Linked DNA regions of Homo sapiens: region 2 is linked to region 1. The links are contacts of gene promoters, found by promoter capture Hi-C in human tissues and cell types (Jung and others, 2019). All regions are on one chromosome and are shown on one strand. Each heading gives the region's core, a stretch centred on a gene start or on the middle of the fragment in contact. The rest is flanking DNA. Distances are from core to core; before and after follow the strand shown. Region 1 holds the start of MRPL21 (mitochondrial ribosomal protein L21). Region 2 overlaps CPT1A (carnitine palmitoyltransferase 1A).

Evidence for each region. The method cuts DNA at HindIII sites, captures the fragments that hold promoters and counts their contacts. A contact is called where the count stands out against the background at its distance.
Region 2: a fragment that was not itself captured here is called in contact with the fragment with the promoter of MRPL21 in region 1 in 2 of the 25 tissues and cell types used here (IMR-90 fibroblasts and aorta).

The regions. Positions count from the first base shown.
Region 1 is chr11:68,898,498-68,905,857 of GRCh38, forward strand. It overlaps MRPL21 (mitochondrial ribosomal protein L21), which reads right to left and starts at 5,335. Exons shown (of 7, transcript NM_181514.2): 1 at 5,226-5,335; 2 at 2,051-2,108. The coding sequence starts at 5,313. IGHMBP2 (immunoglobulin mu DNA binding protein 2) reads left to right here and starts at 5,394. Exons shown (of 15, transcript NM_002180.3): 1 at 5,394-5,541. The coding sequence starts at 5,456. RefSeq lists enhancers at 5,208-5,935, 5,367-5,486, 5,817-5,876. The HindIII fragment of the contact is 6,843 bases long and covers 528-7,360 here.
Region 2 is chr11:68,787,479-68,794,838 of GRCh38, forward strand. It overlaps CPT1A (carnitine palmitoyltransferase 1A), which reads right to left. Exons shown (of 19, transcript NM_001876.4): 8 at 7,326-7,360; 9 at 5,837-5,924. Among named protein-coding and RNA genes, the nearest start is that of TESMIN, 40 kb to the left of the region's middle. The HindIII fragment of the contact is 3,433 bases long and covers 2,849-6,281 here.

The sequences.
Region 1 (7,360 bases), core at 4,085-6,584:
CACCTCCTCCTAGGTAGGTGCCTGCTCTTCCTTCACACCCAGGTGAGTGCCAGGCAGAACTGGCTCGGAACCCCAGACAATTCTGTGTCCTGGTGTCTACAACTGAGCAAATGGGAAAACAAGCACCCGCCTGAAAGGGCTGTGTTAGGTATTAGATGGCTACTGTTCACAGCCGGTCCCAGCATGGCCAGTGAGGGTCGGGTGTTAGGAGTGCTCAGTCTCAGCAGCTATAGCACTGCGGTCCCCAGCCACTTCCCCTCCCCACCCTCAGGATGCCAAGCTTGGTGCGGGCAATGCCTTTTTTTTTTGAGACGGAGTCTCGCTCTGTCACCCAGGCTAGAGTGCGGTGGCATGATCTCAGCTCACTGCAACCTCTGCCTCCAGGGTTCCAGCGATTCTCCTGCCTCAGTCACCTTAGTAGCTGGGATTACAGGCACATGCCACCACATCTGGCTAATTTTTGTATTTTTAGTAGAGATGGGGTTTCGCCACATTGGCCAGGCTGGTCTCGAACTCCTGGCCTCAAGTGATCCGCCCACCTCGGCCTCCCAAAATTCTGGGATTACAGGCATGAGCCACCGTGCCCAGCCCAAGATCTTCTTCATTTCCTAACTCTCCCCTGCCTGCTCAGCCTCAGGTAGGTGGAGGGGAGAGGAAGGGAGGAAAGAAAGAGGGGGGCCTAGATTCAAAAGGAGGTGGGGTCTTTCTTTCTGTAGTCTACAAAGAGGGAGGGTAGGTAGATCCCAAACCGAATTATTCAGAACCGTTTTTAAGCTTTTATTGCTGCTGCCACTGCAAAGTAAAATTTCAGTCTTTCTACTCCAGGGTTGCATTAGGAGGAAGAAAACGACTTGCTCCATATGCAAAATGCACCGGCCTCCACACCAAAGACCAGGCCCACCCGTCCTGTTGGCTGGCGCGCAGGAGGGGCTCCACACCAATCTGGGAGAGGAATGAATGCTTTCCCAGTGGGGTAGGGCTTGGAGCTCCTAGAGACATGAACTCCGTGATCTGTGGTTGGTCAATGACCTTGAGAGACAAGGAGGACAAGGAAGGTGCTGCTCTCTACAAAACGTCTTTGACCTGTTTGATGTCTAGTCTCCCCATACGGGTTCAGCAGTGCCCAGTGTGAGAAGAACACGCTGGCAGGAAGGTGCTAACCTCTCACACAGGACACAGGGGTAGTAGGCACAACCTACCCACATGCTCACTTACAACTTCTTCCTATGCTCAGAATGTTTTGCCGCTTCTTTGAGAAGCAAGAAAGACTCCCACATCTCCCCACTGCAGAGGATCCCTGGAGTCCCAGCAGCAGTTCCAGCAGCCAATGTTTTGTGAGTGCTGACTGTATGCCAGGCACTGTTCTAAGAGCTTTAAATGTATACATTTACTTAATCCTCTCCAACACCCATGCAGATAGAAATGAACATTACTTCCATCTTGCAGAAGCCTGGCGTCCCAGGCTGTGAGGGGCAGCCGGAACTGCACCCCGGGGGGGTCCCTACAGTAACTGCTATCCCTGCACTGCTCCTGTGTCTCCCACCAGTGAGTGGAACTTTGTCGAATGTTTTCTGCAGTTTATGATACCTAAAAATGTTTTCTCAAGTATAAAATTTTAACACTGAATGTGCTTTTTCAAATAATGAGTTTCTCTTAGAGACTCTGATACAAACTTCCTCATCAGAAATCTTGAGTTAAGACTTCAAGCTCCTCCATAATAAAAGAGAGCAAACACATACAGAATTTCTCTTTGGTCTCTTGCAGTTACGTCTTCTTTTAAGGGTCTCAGAAAAATACCGTCAAAAAAGTTAAAGCTGAAAGTGGTGGTGCATGCCTGTAATCCCAGCTACTCAGGAGGCTGAGGCGGGAGGACCACTTTAGGCCAGGAGTTCAAAACCAGTCTGGGAAACATAGTGAAACTCTGTCTCTTAAAAACAAAAGAGGAAATTTAAATATTATTGAGAACCAAAAGGTAGGAAGTTTTGACTTTAGAAAGATGGTTCTACAAATGAAAGGAAAAGAGGCACCAAAACCCACATTTTGATATTACCCTGGTAGATATGAAGTGCTCTGTGAATTGAACCTTCGAGAAGCAGACCAAAGGGAGGCTGAGGGAAGAAGAGAAACACAGATCATTACCATTAATACTACAAATGCAAACTGCCCTTTATGATGCTAAATGCACAGCTGCTGCTCCTGGTACATGGTATGAACCACTGCATGACAGCCTGCCCACAGAAACACCTAGGTGAGCAAAACTACAAGAACGTCACTTACAGCTACTGGTTATATGTGTTGAGATCAGTTAGCCACATCATCTACAAGCGCCTGAGACCAGAACCACCCGTCCACTAACTCATGCCTTGACTAAGTGCCTGGTAGGTTCAGACTCTGATCTGTGCCCAAGCGTGGGAGCAGCCTCCAAGATGGCCCTGCTGGGCCCCGCCTCCTGCTATTCTTACCCCTGTTAGCCCCCTGGGAGTGGCCTGTGTGTCCAACAGCTAGTGACAGACATGCTAGCACGTGGCTTCTGGGATGAGGTGATAACCAACTGGGACTTCCATCTTGGATGCCTGTGCTCACCCTTTCTGATCTCTGGCCTTAGGGCTGCCCTGCTGTGAGCAGCCCTACCTAGAGGTCCACATGGCGGGGAACTAGGCCTATCGCCAACACCCATGGGAACGACCTTGCAGGTAGATTCTCCAGCCGCTGGCGCAGTGGAGTCTTGAGATAACTACAGCCCCTGCAGACTTGCTTGCTGCAAGCTAAGACCCTGAGCCAGAACCAGCCACTTAAGCTGCTTCTGTGTTCCTGGCTCTCAGAACTGGTGTGAGTTAATAAATGTTTTAAGCTGCTAAGTTTTGGGGTAATTTCTGATGTAACCGTAGATAACGCATACACCAGGAATACACCAGGAAACAAAGACATTCAATCTACTGAGAAGACAGGGGATCAAAATAAGTGCTTAGGTGTAAAAAGCAGAGAACAGTTTCTCAATAACCACTTTTAAAGAAACTCAGCTATAATTTACACACCATAAAAACCACCTTTTTAAAGTTCACCCATTAGCACCAGCTCCCCATTTGCATCTCCTCGGCTGCTTTCTCCTCTCCTCTCCCATTTGGGCATCCGGGGCTCAACCCTTGGCCTTGACCTCCTCTCCGCCCATGGCCATTCCTCTGGTGACTGCATCCAGTCCGATGGATTTAAACACCCCCAATGTGCTGGTGACTCCCAAGTTTACACCTCCAGCCAGGGCTTCTCTCCTGGTTTTGCATACCCACCTATCTATCTGCCTTAGCCACTCGTGTCTGACGAGCACCTCACACCTCCAGAGGCTCCTCATTTCTTCCCATGCCTGCTTCTCCCACACTCCTCCCTCTCACATGAGGGCAACTTCATCCTCCCAGTTGCTCAGGCCCCAAACCTCCATCAGTTTTGACTCTTCTCTCGCACACTACTCAGTCAACCCATTGGCAAATCCATCCCACTATTAAAAACTTAGCAGGCTTCTGTACCTAATTTGCTTCTAGCTTTGTTTTTGGGTCCCCAGGGAACAAACAGTCTCCTTCCTCTCCCACAGGATTTCCTTTAGGTAGTCCTAGAGACTGTGACTGTGTACTTCCATCACGTCTCCTTTGCTCACTCTTCAAGGCCCCAGCTGCTCACTGTTTTGGTCACCTTGTCTCTACTCGCTTCACTGTGTGTCTTTCTCTCCTAATGCGTGAGTCTGTACTTGAACATAGCATTGGAGGGGTGGTTTCATGTAGGTAGGTAGAATGGAGTAAGTCCCACTGCTTTTGTAAAAACTTTCCTGCCTACTTAAACCTAAGTTTTATTATGGAAAATGTCAAGCATACAAAAGTAAAGAGAACAGAATAGTGAACTCTCTCAATTATCCCTTTCCAGGTTCAACAGTTACCAACTCATGGCCAATTTTGGCATCTACATTGCCTCTGGCCCAACTCTGTGATTATTATTAATTTCTTAATAGACTTTATTTTTTAGCACAGTTTTAGTTTCACACCAAAATTGAGTGGAAGGTACAGAGAGTTCCCATATGTCCCCTGTCCATGTGCCCACAGCTTCCTATCAACATCCCTCACCAGAGTGGTACAATCTTTACAATTGATGAACCTACATTGACACATCATTGTTATCCAAAGTCCATAGTCTACATTAGGGGTTCACCCTTGGTAGTGTACATTCTATGGATTTGGACAAACTTATAATGACATGTATCTACCATTATATCATACAGAATAGTTTCACTGCCCTAAAAATCCTCTGAGCTCCACCTATTTATCCTTTTCTCCCCCAATCCTCTTACCCCCCATGTAACTTTTTACTGTCTCCTTAGATTTGCCTTTTCCAGAATGTCATAGTGGGAAACATACAAGATGTCCCCTTTTCAGGTTGGCTTCTTTTACTTAGTAACATGTATGTAAGTTTCCTCCATGTCTCTTCATGACTCATTTCTTTTTATTGCTGCATAATATTCTACTGTATGGATGTCCTACAGTTTATGTAACCATTCATCTCCTGAAGGACATCTGGGTTGCTTCCAAGTTTTGGGAATTATGGTACTATTCTTTTAATATCGTCCAATATAGAGTTAGATCCAGTTTTCCATTTTTGGGGGTCATGGTGAGACATGAAACCCAGGTTTAAAACATACATAAACACTCATGCACACAAATACACACTCCAACCATTTTCAAGCAGAGATTTATAGAGTTTTTAACGGACATAACCTTTTTGGAGCCTCGTATCAGCCCAGCGCCTTAAATACGGCTGTTTCTTTTGCAGAATGAGTTCAGATTAGGCGAGGATATCCATCACCATTTTTCAGACCAGCTCGCAGCCTGGGGGCAGTGGTTCAAGCACAGGCTTTGGAGCCGAAATGACTGCGCCTGAAGTACTCTTCTTCCACTTCCCCGCTGTGTGACCCTGGGCACGTTACCTAGCTCCTCTGAGCCTCACTCTTCTCCCCCATAACATAGGGCCTATACCAAAGTTCAAGGGCTATTGTCAGTATTCAGGCTACTAACTGAAGGAATCAAAATCTGAACCTGGGTTCCCCCGACTCCAAAACCCGTGCTATATTCACCACAAATGCGATCAACACACAAGGCACCAGGTCGGACCCAGGCACATACGTGGCGAGACCGCAGGGAGCAGCGCTCGCTCTGCGTCCTCCCTTCCTCCCATATCCCAGGTCTCACCTGCTCCGGGCCCCGAAGGTCTCAGGATGCTGTGGCTGCACGCGGACGCCAGCCGCCCTAAGGTGACCGTCAGGGAAGATGCTGCCATGGCCGCAGCCTCGGCCGGAAACGGAAACGACGCGAACCGCGTGCGTAACGCACGGGCCCGGCGGGGAACACCGGTCCGCTGTAACACCGGCCCGGCGCAGAAGCGGGACGTCGGCTTCTAGGGGCCCAGGCCGGCGGCGGCGATGGCCTCGGCAGCTGTGGAGAGCTTCGTGACCAAGCAACTGGACCTGCTGGAGCTTGAGAGAGACGCGGAGGTGGAGGAGCGCAGGTACGGGAGGCCGCCGGCGCCGCTCCCTCGCGGTCGGTCCCGCCGTGTCCCGGGCAGAGTCTCCGAGGGGCTCGGCCTCATAGTCTGGGGCGGGAATTTCGTCTCCGACCCTTCGAGTCAGGGGCAGGGATCGTCCGTCCCCTGCTTGGCCACCTCCCGAGTTGTCAGTCTCATCACTTCCTGGGCAGCGCGTTCCGTTTGGGGACCCTTAAGAAGCACTTTGATTTCCCGACCCGAGACCCCCCACTAAGCTTACACTCCTGGGCCCTGGCCCCGACCCCAGTTCCACCCGCAGCGAGTTAGCAGCCCTTTCCCTTATTCATTCAGTAAACATGGTTTGCGCCCATTCTCAGTCAGGCCCCGGCAGCATGAGTCAGGTGCACTGGCTGCCCCCGATCCGGCCAGCGGCGGGCTGGGCATAAGCAGAGAGTCCCTTCCCCTCCAGTGCGTCCAGGGCCGGCTGCGTGCGTGTCGCGGGGAAAGAGCCTGGAGGAGGAAGGCCCTTCCCTGGGGAGGGTCATGGTGGCTTCAAGGAGGGAGTGGTGCCTGAAGGAAAATTGGAGTTAAGCTGGTGGGTGCGGAGTAGGGTGGGGAGCCGTCCTGAGAGGTGTGGGGAGCCATGTGAGAGCCGGGCTTGTTTCCGAATGGGACTATTTACTTGTCCAAAACAATCAGAGCTAACACTTACGTACTTTCCATGCGTTAATTCTTTTACACCTCATCCCATGCCAACCCTACAGTGTAAGTTTCTTTTTTTTCTTTTTCTTTTTTTTTTTTTTAGACAGAGTCTCTCTCTGTCGCCCAGGCTGGAGTGCAGTGGCACGATCTCGGCTTACTGCAGCTTCCATCTCCCGGGTTCAAGCGATTCTCCTGCCTCAGCCTCCTGAGTGGCTGGGACTACAGGCGCGCCACCACGTCCTGCTAATTTTTTGTATTTTTAGTAGAGACAGGGTTTCACCATGTTGGCCAGGATGGTCTCGATCTCCTGACCTCGTGGTCTGCCCGCCTTGGCCTCCCAAAGTGTTGGGATTACAGGCGTGAGCCACCGTGCCCGGCCGCAGTGTAGGTTTCTGTTACTGTCATTTTCCGTCTAAGGAGATGGAGACAGAGAGGGGTTAAGTAACTTGCCCCGGGGTGACACAGTGTAGCCCGATTTGCTGTCAGGCAGTCTGCTTCCAGAGTTTGCAGTCAGCCATATGTGGGTAGGATTTGTCTGAGATGCTTTTGATCATGGCAATGGAGAGCTTTTGCAGTTATGTTGAGTTTCTTAGAATCCCAGCTGTTTCATTTATGGCTGTGTGACTTTGCAGGTTCTGTCTCTGAGCCTTACTTACTTCATCTGTAAAACTGGGATGATTCCCACCTCACAGGCTTGCTCTGAGAATGAAACGATCCCCTGTCAGTCAGGTGCTCAGCGTGGTGCCAAGGACAGAGTCAGCCCCCATGGCAGTGGCTCTTTCTGAGGATGCTGAGCAGACTGGCAGGGCGAGCCTGGGAAGGGCCTGGCTAAGGAGCTAGTCTTCTGTTCTGTGTATGAAGGATGGGCCATCAGCGGGGTTAAGCAGGTGAGGGAGGCGAATAGCTTTGCATTTTAGGAGGATTTCTTGGGTCTCCTGCTTTTGATTGGACGTGGAGAGGCCAGAGGTAAGGTAGTTGAGAGGCTCTGTTTAGTCCAGGTGAGCAGTGATGTGGATTTGAACCGGGGCTGTGGCAGCCAGGATGAGAGGCAGAGAAGTCCAGGTAGAAATGGGAGGGGCCTGATAGGACTTAGTGACAGATGGGAGGAGAGAGGGGAATGCTGATTGAAAGATCTGTCTCA
Region 2 (7,360 bases), core at 3,315-5,814, 110 kb before region 1:
AAACCTTTCATGTTCCTATACCCCAGGGCACAGGCTGAACTGTGTCCCCCCATTCATATATTGAAATCCTAACCCCCAGCACCTCAGAATGTGGCCTCATTTGGAGATGGGGTCTTTAATGAGGTCATTAGGGTGGGCCCTAATCCTATGTGACTGTGTCCTTTTAAGAAGAGGAGTTTAGGGTTGGGTGCGGTGGCTCACGTCTATAATCCCAGCACTTTGGGAGGCCGAGGTGGGCAGATCGCCTGAGGTCAGGAGTTCGAGGCCAGCCTGGCCTACATGGTGAAAACTCGTCTCTACTAAAAAATTACAAAAATTAGCCAGGCGTGGTGGCGGACACCTGTAGTCCCAGCTACTTGGGAGTCTGGAGCAGGAGAATCACTTGAACCCAGGAGGTGGAGGTTGCAGTGAGCCGAGATTGTGCACTGCATTCCAGCCTGGGTGACAGAATGAGACTCAGTCTCAAAAAAAAAAAAAAAAAAAAGGGAGACTTTAGGACACGCACAGAGGGATGACCACGTAAGGACACAGGGAAGAGATGGTTATCCAAGGAGAGGGGCCTACAGAAGGAACCACCTCTGCCAACACCTTGATGTTGGAGTTCCAGCCTGCAGAATTGTGAGAAAATCGCTGTCTTGCTTAAGCCGTGCAGTCTGTGGTATTTGTTATGGTGGCCTGGGCAAACTTACACGCTGCATAACCAACACCTTGAAAATATTCTTGAAAAGGAACAAAACAATAAAAGTGCTTAGAAACAGCTCGAACAAATGATGTGCTGCAAGGACTTCATGGAGAAAAGTATGACATTTTATTAAAATCGCCTAAAAAACAAAAAAGGGGCCAGGCACAGTGGCTCATGCCTGTAATCCCAGCACTTTGGGAGGCCGAGGCGGGCGGATCACTTGAGGCCAAGAGTTTGAGATCAGCCTGGCCAACATGGCAAAACCCCGTCTCTATTAAAAATACAAAAGTAAGCTGGGTGTGGTGGTGCATGCCTGTAATCCCAGCTACTAGGGAGGCTGAGGCAGGACAATCGCTTGAAACTGGAAGGTGCGGTTTGCAGTGAGCCAAGATTGCACCACTGCACTCCAGCCTCGGCAACAGAGTGAGACTCAGTTTCAAAAAAACAAAAACAAACAAACAAACAAAAGTAAAAAAAAAAAAAAAAAAAAAAAAGCAGAATGTCTGGAATATATAAATACTTTCTACAAATCAATAAGGAAAAGATACACATCCATTTTTAAAAAATATACAAAATATAAGAACAATATTCTCAACAGAAGAAACCCAAATGTCCAGTTAACATTTTAAAAGTTGCTAACCCTTTTGGCAAAAATGAAGGGAAAAGGGTATTTTATAGATTGCTGGGGACGTGAAAGTTGGTAAAATCACTTTGAGGGTAATTTGTCCATGCCAGTAAGACTGGAAATGTCAACCAGGGCAGCCGGCAAGCCAATTCTAGGTGCCTGCTCTACAGACTGTTTGACCAATGCATGCAGGGGAGAAACATACACAGAATTCACTGAGCGTCACTTAGAAAGGAAAACAGGAAAGAAAGAAAAGCGTTCACATACTGGAATTGTTTTGATACTATAACGAAGTACATCATAAATGTCAATAATGATTGTACTGGAGTGGTAAGATTAGGGCTGTATCTTCTGCTAAAAGATTTTCTAAATTTTGGTAGTAATTCCATTTTATAGCAATATATATTATTAAATAGAAAAATGCCAGAACTTAAGACCCTTAAGATAAGTCTATACCTCTTTCCCTTTTTTTATTTTGGGGAATTTGAATGGTCTAATTAGTGAGGATTGTGACTGATGGGATCCTCCGGTGGGGATGTCTGAGAAAGTGGGTGGGGCTTTGCCCGATGATCACCAACGAATGGCATTGCACGTGCTCATATACATTTACCTTTCTTTATTTTTTTTTTTTGACAGGGTCTTGCTCTGTCACCCAGGCTGGAGTGCAGTGGTGCGATCTCAGCTTACTGCAAGCTCCTCCTCCCAGGTTCAAGTGATTCTCCTGCCTCAGCCTCCTGAGTAGCAGGGATTACAGACATCTGCTATCACGCCTGGTTAATTTTTGTGGGTTTCTTTTAGTAGAGGTGGGGTTTCACCATGTTGGCCAGGATGGTCTCGAACTCCTGACCTCAAGTGATCCACCCGCCTCGGCCTCCCAAAGTGCTGGGATTACAGGCGTGAGCCACCACTCCCAGGCTTTGTATTTACATTTCTTTCATTCCCAGTGATGTTGAATGCTTTTCTATAACTCCTTAAACATTTCTCCTTCCAGGGGTGCCCATCATTTCCTTTCCAATTAGGATCTTCATGGTTTTCTGGCAGATTTATAAGAACTCTTTACATATTAACCCTGTTCTCTGTTGTGAGCACTTACCCTCAATTTGTTATCTACCTTTTAAAACAGTTTGAAGTATTTTTGAAATATAGAAAACTAAAATCTTTACATGACAATATTTGGATTTTTCCGTTGTTGTAATGAGTTGAGCTGTTTCTACCCAAAAGATATGTCCATGTTCTAGCCCTGGTACCTGTGAAAACCTTATTTCTTAATCGGAAGTAGGGTCTTTTTTTTCTTTTTTTGAGACAGGGTCTCATTCTGTCACCCAGGCTAAGTGCAGTGGTGTGATCACAGCTCAGCTCACTACAGTCTCCACCTCCCAGGCTCAAGTGATCCTCCCTCCTCAGCCTCCTGAGTAGCTGGGACCACAGGTACACACCACTATGTCCGACTAATTTTTGTATTTTTTGTAGAGATGGGGTTTTGCCATGTTGCCCAGGCTGCTCTCAAACTCCTGGGCTCAGGTGATCCACCCACCTCAGCCTCCCAATGTGCTGGGATTACAGGCATGAGCCACCACATCTGGCCTGGAAATAGGGTCTTTGCTGATATAATTCAATATTAAGATGAGGTCATACTGGACTAGGGTGGACCCCAAATCCAATGACTGTTGTCCTTGTAAGAGAGACACACACACACAGAGGTGAGAGCCAAGGTGACATGGAGGCAGAGATCAGAGTGATATGCCTACAAGCCAAGGAGCACCTGGACCCCCCCAGAAGCTGGAAGAGGCATAAAGGCCTCCCCCAGAGCCTTTGAAAAGAGCACGGCCCTGCTGACACCTTGATCTCGGACTCTGGCCTCCAGAGCTGTGGCAGAAGAAACTTCTTTTGTCTTAAGACATCCAGTTTGTGGTCATTTATTCCAGCAGCCCCAGGAAACTGACTCAGGTATCATGCTCAGAATGGCTGTCCAGGTACACTAAGTAACTAGGTTTTATCCCAGCATTTCCCTTGTTTATTGATTTATTTTATTTTTATTTCATATACATATTTTTTTGAGATGGAGTCTCACTCTGTCACTCAAGCTGGAGTGCAGTGGCATGATCTTGGCTCACTGCAACCTCCACCTCCCAGGTTCAAGCAATCCTCCTACCTCTGCCTCCTGAGTAGCCGGGATTACAGGTATGCACCACCACACCTGGCTAATTTTTGTATTTTCAGTAGAGATGGGGTTTCACCATGTTGGCCAGGCTGGTGTCGAACTCCTGACCTCAGGTGATCCACCTGCCTTGGCCTCCCAAAGTGCTGGGATTACAGGAATGAGCCTTTGTGCCTGGCCTCCCTTGTTTATTTTTTTAAACACATACATATTTACCTCCTGGAATCACTGTCAGTGTAGGCCGCATGTCTCAAACTTAAATGATCTTAAGGATGTCCCCATACCACGGTGCTGACTGACAGCAGGTGACAGCCTCCCCAGGACACCCTGACCCACTTCCCTTTGGGGACACTGCCTGCCCTGGTCAGTGAAGGGGCAACTGCCCCTCCAATCAGGGAGACACTGTGAGAGGATGGAGAGAACCAACTTCACTTTCCTCCACCTCGTTGCCCAACTGCCCCAGGACTGCTGTTGGCCAACACATCTGTTTTTCACATGTTGAGCTACAGTACAATGGACGACAGTGTGTGGCAGGAAGAGAGGAGGGGTTTAGCCAGAAACACTGTGAAATCCGTGAACACACATGGAGTGGGTTCTTTTTTGTTTTTTTGAGATGAAGTTTCACTCTTGTTGCCCGGGCTGGAGTGCAGTGGCACAATCTCAGTTCACTGCAACCTCCACCTCCCATGTTCAAGTGATTCGTCTGCCTTAGCCTCCCAAGTAGCTGGGATTACGGGTGCCCACCACCATACCTGGCTAATTTTGTATTTTTAGTAGAGATGGGGTTTTGTAGACCAGTAGTAGGCTGGTCTTGAACTCCTGACCTCAGGTGATCTGCCCACTTCGGCCTCCCAAAATGCTGGGATTACAGGCGTGAGCCACCGCGCCTGGCCAGAATGGGTTTTTAGAGAACCTCTGAAGGCAGGATCAGAGGAAAGGGGAGAATCTGCTTAGGAAAGCCCACTCAGAGGCCAGCTTTTGTGCAAGGATACAGCAAAGGCTCCCCAATGACCACCACAGTGCACACTACTGACTAGGGCTTGGTCTGGAATATTGACTAGGGCTTGGTCTGGAAGGACCGGGCTGCAACAAGACACTCAAAACTGCAGGTCAGGCCAGGCATGGTGGCTCACATCTGTAATTCCAGCACTTTGGAAGGCCGAGGTGGGACGATCACGAGGTCAGGAGATGAGACCATCCTGGCTAACACGGTGAAACTCCGTCTCTACTAAAAATATAAAAAATTAGCCGGGCGTGGTGGCAGACACCTATAGTCCCAGCTACTCGGGAGGCTGAGGCAGGAGAATGGCGTGAACTCGGGAGGTGGAGGTTGCAGTGAGCCGAGATCGCGCCACTGCACTCCAGCCTGGGCAACAGAGCGAGACTCCCTCTAAAAAAAAATAAATAAATAAAATTGCAGGTCAGCTCTGGCCCTTTCCAGCCAGCTTCCCAAGCAGCCCCGAGGCCCGCCCGTCATACAGGCCTGCCATGATGGTCTTGGGCTCTAGCTCACCAAGTGTCTCTGGGTAGTTCCCCATCCACAGGCACCTGGGGAAATGGAGGCCATGGACAGCACAGCCTGGGCCTGGGCCTGGCCTGGATGTTCCCCACGGTGCCTGTTCTCCCTCCCTGTCATTCTCAAGGACGTCCTGGTTTGGACGGTGGCTTACGTGGCCACCCTGCCCAGGTCAGGCAGCTGATAAAGGAGTGGCTGGAACACAAATCCACCTTTCCGAGCACGACCCAGTGTGCGTTCCATCACAAACGCTGACTGTGAGCCGGAGTAAAATGCCCCTGAGGAATCCAGACTCAGGAAAAAAACACTCAGCTGTGTGTGACTCACGCCTGTAATCCCAGCACTTCGGGAGGCCGAAGCGGGCGGATCACTTGAGTCCAGGAGTTTGAGATCAGCCTGGGCAACACGGCAAAACCTCATCTCTATAAAAAATGCAAAAATTAGCCAGGCATGATGCATGTGCCTGTGGTCTCAGCTACTGGGGAGGCTAAGATGGGAGGATTCCTTGAGCTCAGGAGGTGGAGGCTGAAGTGAGCCGTGATCATGTCACTGCACTCCAGCCTGGGTGGCAGAGAGAGACCTCATGTCAAAATAAATAAATAAATAAATAAATCAAACACTCTATGAGACAGTTGGCAGTCTTCAACCAAAGAGAAATTAAAATCTGGAAATAAGTCAACAACAGTGTCCAGGCCTAAGACAGACAAAGGAAATTCAGCAGAAGGAATGTTCACCAGCCTACAATCTCAGGAAGGGTCAGCAAAAATCAATTTGGCCCCTTTGACACTTCCTAATTCTGAGCATAGGGATGGAAAGTGCCGATTCTCCAGGGGGCCCTGAAGAAGCTTGACTCACCTGTCTCCTCTCCTGGGATCCGGGAAGTATTAAACATCCGCTCCCACTGAGCGGAGCAGAGTGGAATCGTGGATCCCAAAAGACGAATCTGTAACAAAAATATATTTCAAACCAACAACGAAAATCCCACAGAAGAAAAGCAGCAAGTTGGCCGGGTGCGGTGGCTCACGCCTGTAATCCCAACACTTTGGGAGGCTGAGGCGGGCGGATCACGAGGTCAGTAGATGGAGACCATCCTGGCTAACACAGTGAAACCCCGTCTCTACTAAAAATACAAAAAAATTAGCCGGGCATGGTGTCGGGTGCCTGTAGTCCCAGCTACTTGGGAGGTTGAGGCAGGAGAATGGCATGAACCCGGGAGGCAGAGCCTGCAGTGAGCTGAGATCGTGCCACTACACTCCAGCCTCGGCAACAGAGCGAGACTCTGTCTCAAAAAAAAAAAAAAAAAGAAAACAAAAGCAGCAAGCAGCAAGCAAGTTAAGACCACATGGAAATGCTGAATGTGTTTTCTGTGCGAATTGCTTCGTTTGACTTCCTCTTTTCCAGTGGCTCACTGGAATGATTCGTTGGGGGACTCATTAAACCATGCCAGGGTGCAACTTCCTGCACAGTTAAATCCTAAATAACACATTCTAATTGATTATTGATAACTGACACTTACAACCAAAGAAATATTCCAGGAAGAAAAGTCTTGTTTCTTATGAGCAACTAAGCAGCTAGTATTAGTTCAAAAACATCAAGGGCTTCTCCAAAGGGCAGATTACAGAATTAAAGTACAACAGATGTATATTCATTTAGGAGACACAAGGAGAATTACATCTCAGAATAATTAGGCTGGGTGAAAGAAACTAGAATTCCGAAAAAAAGAGTGCATACTGTTATGATTCCACTTACACAAAGCTTTAAAAATTGCAAACTAATCTAGAGTGACAGATAGTAGACCAGGGGGTCCAGGACCAGGTGGGAGGGAGAGATGACAAAGGGCAGAGGGGTTTTCGGGTTGACTGATGTATTCACCATCCTGACTGCAGTGATGATGGTTTCTCAGATGCATCAATATATACACATCAGAAGTTAGCAAACTCTACACTTTATTTTTTAATTTTTTTTTTTGAGATGGAGTTTTGCTCTTATAACCCAGGCTAGAGTGCAATGGTGTTATCTTGGCTCGCTGCAACCTCCACCTCCTGGGTTCAAGTGATTCTCCTGCATCGGCCTCCCGAGTAGCTGGGATTACAGGCGCGTGCCAGCACGCCCAGCTAATTTTTCTATTTTTAGTAGAGACAGGGTTTCACTATGTTGGCCAGGCTGGTCTTGAACTGCTAACCTCAGATGATCCGCCTGCTTTGGCCTCCCAAAGTGCCAAGATTACAGGCGTGAGACCCTGTGCCCGGCCACAAACTGTATATTTTAAACATGTGCAATATGTCAATTATACCTCTGTAAAGCTGTTTGAAAATAATTTTTTTAAAGCAATTTGTTTGCCTACTGGTTTGATTTCCTCCCGGTCCAGTTTGCGCCTGT